Linked DNA regions of Homo sapiens: region 1 is linked to region 2. Evidence: promoter capture Hi-C in 16 types of primary human blood cells and fetal thymus (Javierre and others, 2016). All regions are on one chromosome and are shown on one strand. The core of a region is centred on a gene start or on the middle of the fragment in contact, and the rest is flanking DNA. Distances in the headings are between cores, read along the strand shown.

Region 1 (2,759 bases), core at 85-2,584, 460 kb before region 2:
GCAAATGAACAAGACACTTCACGAAAATGATATTCCAATGTCCAATAAATGTATATAAAAGTACTTTATTTCCTTATCAGAGAAATGCATACCATTTCAATGTTATTACAATTACAATCTCACCAGAATGGCTAGAATTAAAAGGATTGGCAACACAAATGCAGAAGATGCCAGCAACTGGAACTTTTTTTTTTCCCCAGATGGAGTCTTGCTCTGTTACCCAGACTAGAGTGCAGTGGTGCTATCTCAGCTCACTGCAACCTCCACCTCTCAGGTTCAAGCAATTCTCCTGCCTCAGCCTCCCAAGTAGCTGAGATTACAGGCACTCGCCACCACGCCCGGCTAATTTTTGTATTTTTAGTAGAGATGGGGTTTCATCATGTTGGCCAGGCTGGTCTCGAACTGCTGACCTCATGATCTGCCCACCTCAGCCTCCCAAAGTGCTGGGATTACAGGCATGAGCCACAGCTCCCGGCAGCAACTGTAACTTTTGATGCAGGATTTTTCTTCTCGGTCACTTTGCAAACCGGGACCTCCGGCCAGCGATGCCCCACCCGCGCCCTGCTCAGCCACGCTGGCATGCCCCAGCTCGCCTGTGTTATAGCTTCTATCCGCGTTCGGCGGTTCCCAAGCTCTTGTACCCACGTTCGGCGGTTCCCAAGCTCTTGTACCCGCGTTCGGCAGTTCCCAAGCTCTTGTACCACGCCTGAGAAGAATGAGGATACGTTGGACATTGAAGGGTGAAGAGGGCGGAGAAGAATTTTATTGAGCAAGGGAACAGCAATTAGCGGAGAAGGGACTCTGGGGGGTGGTCGCCCACCCCCTTAGTCGGATGGTTTTTTCCTCCCCTCGTGGCTGGGTCACGAGCTTTTTATAGGCTTAGAATAGGGGAGGGGCAGGTCATAGGTAGTATTGGAAAAGGCAACGCTTGATCGGTTAAAACGCATTATTTAGAAATAATTAATCAGGAAAGAGCGGGGGCAAAAAGGAACAGAAATACTCAGCCTGTGTCGCGGGTTTCATCTGGGACCAGCAGTTCAGTGTTTTTGGCTGGAAGGTGGGGTTTCACCCCATCCTCCTGGGCATTTAGCAGCCTCCAGCCGCTCTCACTTTCGTGTGCCATGGACGAGATGATAAACTGAGATTGTAGAGGAGTTGCAGTTCTTGGCAGTGACCAGGTCTAGAGAACGACCACTGAGGTAAGTGACTGAGGTGGGTAGATGACAAGGGGAGTTAAAGGTGCTGAGAGGCCTGGGTACAGAAGCAGTCATCAGCGTGGATATTAAAATCACCAGGAACAAAGGCTGACGTGGTTTCGGAGAGACTTACAGAAAGCTAAAAGCTAAAATGATGGAGATGTGAGGGGCTCAGCTCAACTGATGACGGTATCAGTAGGTGTGGTAGACGGTGGATGGTATAGTCTGAGGACAGGAGGTGAAAGCTAGGGGAGCACAGGGACTTTCTGGTCCACCACCATCCTCGTCTGTCTGACCAATACATCTCTCTGCTGGGTTTCTATGTTATCTTTTTCTCTTTTAAAATTTAATTACATTCCATCTCATAGATTTCAATCGTTGATTTACTTATTCCCTTTCCCAACCACTCTATGAGAACACCACGTCTAATTTGATTTTGTGTTCCCGAGGCCTCGCTCATTGGAAGCACTCAAAGATTCTTTGTTGGATGTATGAATGAAGAACTTGTTAAGTGCACCCGCAGAGTATACGTGGTTGGCTCAGCCACGCGAGGTTCAGTGTTAAGCACAGTCCACTGGGAGGCAGTGTTGTGCAGTGAAAAGGTCTCAGCTTTACGAGACAGAAGGCCAGATCTCCAACATCAGTTCTGCCACCTTCTATCTGCCTGACCTTGGGCCACAGTCTCCTTAAGACACAGGCAAAATGGGAATACTGAGAAAGAGAGTCATTTTCTTACAGGAGTACTGTGAAAATTAAAGGTAATTTAGGTAGATTTAGGTACAATATCCGCATATAGTCGGTGTATTTATCATAGGGTAACTTGATTGCTTTCTAATAACAGTAAGCACGATTGCAGGTTAAGTCTTCCAAAGAAGTGTTTTTCATAATCATGCTGCAAATGATTCTCACTCTAAAATTGTCAGCCCAATTCTCACCTCTCTCAGAGGCCTTGTGGTTGGATGCTTGAGGCTCAGAGGTTCTCAGGGCTCCATGAGACTGGGGGCTCCACTGGGGATCAGGCAAGTCCAAGACTTAAGGGACTGGCCCTGGTTCAGCTGCATGTGCATTAAATAGATTTTTGTGCACTGGCCTGGGAAACAAGCCACCATCTATAATTCTGTTTCTATGGGGAAAGGCTTTCTGTGTTCCAAACAACCGACTTACTAATGAACTCCTGGAACACAACCTATGTGTCGATGGGGACTGGCCGACTGGGTTTTCATGGCCGAGTCAGCCGCCCAAGCAACTGCACAGTGTTGAGCTAATTATAATGGGTTCTCTACGGTGACTAATCTAGCTGTGGTCTCCACAATTGAAGTGGAATTTTGAAAAACTGGAGAAGGTTCTGCAAAAAACCACAAAGATGATTAAAGGACTTAAGGAAAATCTAGTCTGGTCTCTACAGTTTTAAGAGGACTGTAGAAACTATCCATGTAATCATCACTCTCGATTGAAAAAACAAAGTATGCACGCCTGTAGTCCCAGCTACTCGGGAGGCTGAGGCACAAGAATCGCTTGAACCTGGGAGGTGGAGGTTGCAGTGAGCCGAGATCGTGCCACTGC
Region 2 (3,140 bases), core at 314-2,813:
ACGGCAACAGAATTTATTCTGCTTTTCCAAGTAAATGATCCTTCCACAGAGGCACTTGGGACAAGAGGCGACGGGTACTTTTCACGTTTTCGATCTATTGGCTAAGATCCTATCACCTCAAAACAAGGAGACGAGGAAACCCTGGGATCTTGATCCCATTTCGATTGAGAAAACAACACGCTCCTTGCGAAGCGAAACGGGGCTGGCCGCGGGCAGCGCGGAACCACGCGAAGGCGTCGGGGGCGGGCGGGCGCGGGGACCAGGGCCACCCGGTGCAGCAAAGGGGGCAAGCAGGCGGCAGGGCGCGCGGGGAGACAAGGCTGAGTGCACGCCGCCCGCGCCCTCGAAGGCTCTAGTCCCACTCCTTCCTCCCTTCTTGCAGCCCCGCCGCGCCCTGGCGAAGGCTACAGGGTCAGGTTCCCCGCACCGAGGAGCCCAGAAGCCCGGCTGCGGGCGCTCTGAAGATCCGGGACCCCGGCCTCCGTCCCCCGCCAGCTTTAGGGACTCTGGCGGCGTCTCTTAGCCGGGTAGATGTTCCTCCTTTCCCTCTCTCTTCCAAGCCGCTGCCAGGCCGGGGGTGAGGCTGCACCTCAGTCTTCAGCCCCGAAGGCCGCGCCCGGGGCGGGTCGCTCCCCATTCAGCTAAGAGGAAGCAGCGGCCGGGGGGCAGGCGAGGAACCTGTCCCGGCTCACCCGGCAAGACTGCGTTTCCCCCACCCTCGGCGCTTCTTTCTGTGAATGTGAATGGAACTAAGCGTTCCTTTCTCTCCCTCAATGGCCGGCGAGGAGAATTCAAATGCGGTCTTTGGGCGCTCGGTATGGGTCTGGACCTTGGTTTTCAGAGCCTGCGCGTCCAAGGTCGCTAGCCTTTCCCGAAGGAAGTGACAGCTGCGGCGGCGCGGGAGGCCCATCCTCGGTCGTTTAAAGCCACTTAAGGAATAAAAGCCCCCGAGAGAGCAAAACGACCACCCGAAACCTCGGAAGCGTCGGGGGTGCCGGGCCCAACGCTCCCACGTGTCACTGCCGGGGACTCGCGAGGCGAAGCTTCCCAGCGCTCAAGGCGCTCCCGCCTCGTCCCCAGGTATCAGGAACAGACACCCACCAGGTCCACCAGCGGGTCAGACGCCGCCTTCGGGCAGGCTGGGATCTTCCGAACTGGGAGCGGAGAGTAAGGGGCTCGACCCCGGGACGCGAGTCCGGCCTTCTGGACTCCGGTTCAGGGTGTGTGTGCGCGCGGAGGGGCTTATCTGGGGGCCCTGGGTAGCACACGTGTTCGGTTTTTTTCTCCCCGACTCCGCACGCCTGGAGCGGCAATACTGCCTGCCCTAGAAGGCCAGCGGCGAGTGCTCGCCACTAGGGTCCCAGGGAGGGTTTGGAAAACTGATGAGTTAAGTGAGCGACCCCAGGGGACAGAGGGCGAGTCGAGAGTCGGCCAATGGCTGCGGTGGGCGGGGAGAAGACGACGCGGGGATCTGCGTGGGCCGGGTCAATTCCCTACCCTCGACCTGTCGATGCCCCGCGGCCCCGCCCGCCCTCTTAAGCCTGGCTCAGCCCTCAGGGCCCGCCCGAAGTCTACCGAGCCCGAGTGGCCTACCGAGCCCGAGTGGCCCCGCAGCGTCCAGGAGGCGCCCGCTCCGCGGTGGCGCTCTTGGAGGTGGTGTCGGAGGTAGGCACGGGACAGGACGCGCCTGGGGCCCGGGGCGGTGGTCTTCCAGGGCCGTTGGGGAGGGCGGCAGCACTCGCTGGCGCAGTTCGTTTTGGATGGTCGTTCTGCCCTCTCGGGGGCTTTGAATCCCAAGTTGCAGATCCCTGAGGTCGGAGGAGGCTAGGAGAAGGGCGCCTTTGGAGGATCGGGAGGAGACGGGCCGCTGCCTGTGTCGTGGCTGACCTCTTCTCCTGACCCCGTGTTCTTTAATTTCTGAGTCATGACCCTGCTTGGTTTTCTTATTGGGCTCATTGATCTCAAGACCCGCCGGCCCTGAAGGGGCTTCATTCTTCAGCCTCGGTGAACTTGCTGCCTGTCTATTAAAACGCCATCCTTTCCCGGCGGTGCGGGGGCGGGAGGACTGGCAGTCGCCGAGGCTCTTCGCTCCCACCTGGCCAGGGCTCGTCCACGCGGCTCCCGAGGGGCTACCCCAGGCCCCAATAGTCCTGGTAGAATGATTGGAGTTTCCGAGGAACCCGGGGAATGTGGCGGACGCTGCCCGCGAGGGAAAAGAGGTTCAGGCGGCGCATCCTAGGGCAGCCAAAAGTGGCGCGCCCCTCCCCTGCGGGCAGTCAGGACCGCCAGGACCCGCGGGGTCACACCGCTGGGCCAGAGCAGGTCGCGGGGTCCCTGGACCTGCCCGGGGGCTCTGGGAGCGCGTCTCCATCTGCGCGGTGCGACCCAGGGTCCTCGGCTCTTCCCTCCCAGCCGAGGGCCCAGGAGCGCCTGGAGCTGTCGCTTGCTCCATTGCCCTCCGACCGCCTGCGCTCGGCTCCCGGCCCAGCCCCGAGGTTGGCAGGGCCCCGCGGCTCCCACAGACCCTACCAACGAGTTTTGTAGGACTGAGAAGAAGGAAGGAAAGGGAACTTCAATGGGTTTTGCAGGAACCGGGTTGGGGGCCGAAAGCGGAGAGCGGGTGTGGGAAGGCGGCCGGGCTTAGGGAAGGGGTGCTTGGAGAGGGAAGGGGAAGGCAACACTAACCCGGAATTTAGAGTAGGGCAGGATCCCGGCAGATTTCCGTTTGGGGCTTTTTTGTGTTTGCTTCTATTGCTGTTTTTTCGTTTTGTCTTAATTGTGGGAGCGGGCTGGCGGGATCGGACTGGGGGCGTTTATCCTGTTCCCTTGGATCTGGGGCTGGCTGGGGTGGAGGAGGCTGGTGGGGAGGCGCGGGTCGGACCCCGGGAAGCTCCCGCGCGGTGTCCTCAGCGGCGCCCGCTTTTCTGCAGAGCCGCCGAGCGTGCGGTCCCGGGATGGCTCTACCCCGGCCAAGTGAGGCCGTGCCTCAGGACAAGGTGTGCTACCCGCCGGAGAGCAGCCCGCAGAACCTGGCCGCGTACTACACGCCTTTCCCGTCCTATGGACACTACAGAAACAGCCTGGCCACCGTGGAGGAAGACTTCCAACCTTTCCGGCAGCTGGAGGCCGCAGCGTCTGCT

Evidence for each region. Contacts are between HindIII fragments. The CHiCAGO score rates a contact against its expected background, and 5 or more counts as called.
Region 1: a contact is called between a fragment that was not itself captured here and the fragment with the promoter of PRDM14 in region 2, in 3 of 17 cell types (neutrophils, activated CD4 T cells and megakaryocytes). The highest score is 7.8, in neutrophils.

What each region holds. Positions count from the first base shown.
Region 1 is chr8:70,533,654-70,536,412 of GRCh38, reverse strand. It overlaps LOC105375890 (a long non-coding RNA gene), which reads left to right and starts at 468. Exons shown (of 3, transcript XR_929030.3): 1 at 468-1,199. The HindIII fragment of the contact is 3,569 bases long and covers 1-2,759 here.
Region 2 is chr8:70,069,675-70,072,814 of GRCh38, reverse strand. PRDM14 (PR/SET domain 14) reads left to right here and starts at 1,563. Exons shown (of 8, transcript NM_024504.4): 1 at 1,563-1,665; 2 at 2,931-3,140. The coding sequence starts at 2,955. RefSeq lists enhancers at 610-1,339, 1,340-2,069. The HindIII fragment of the contact is 12,104 bases long and covers 1,046-3,140 here.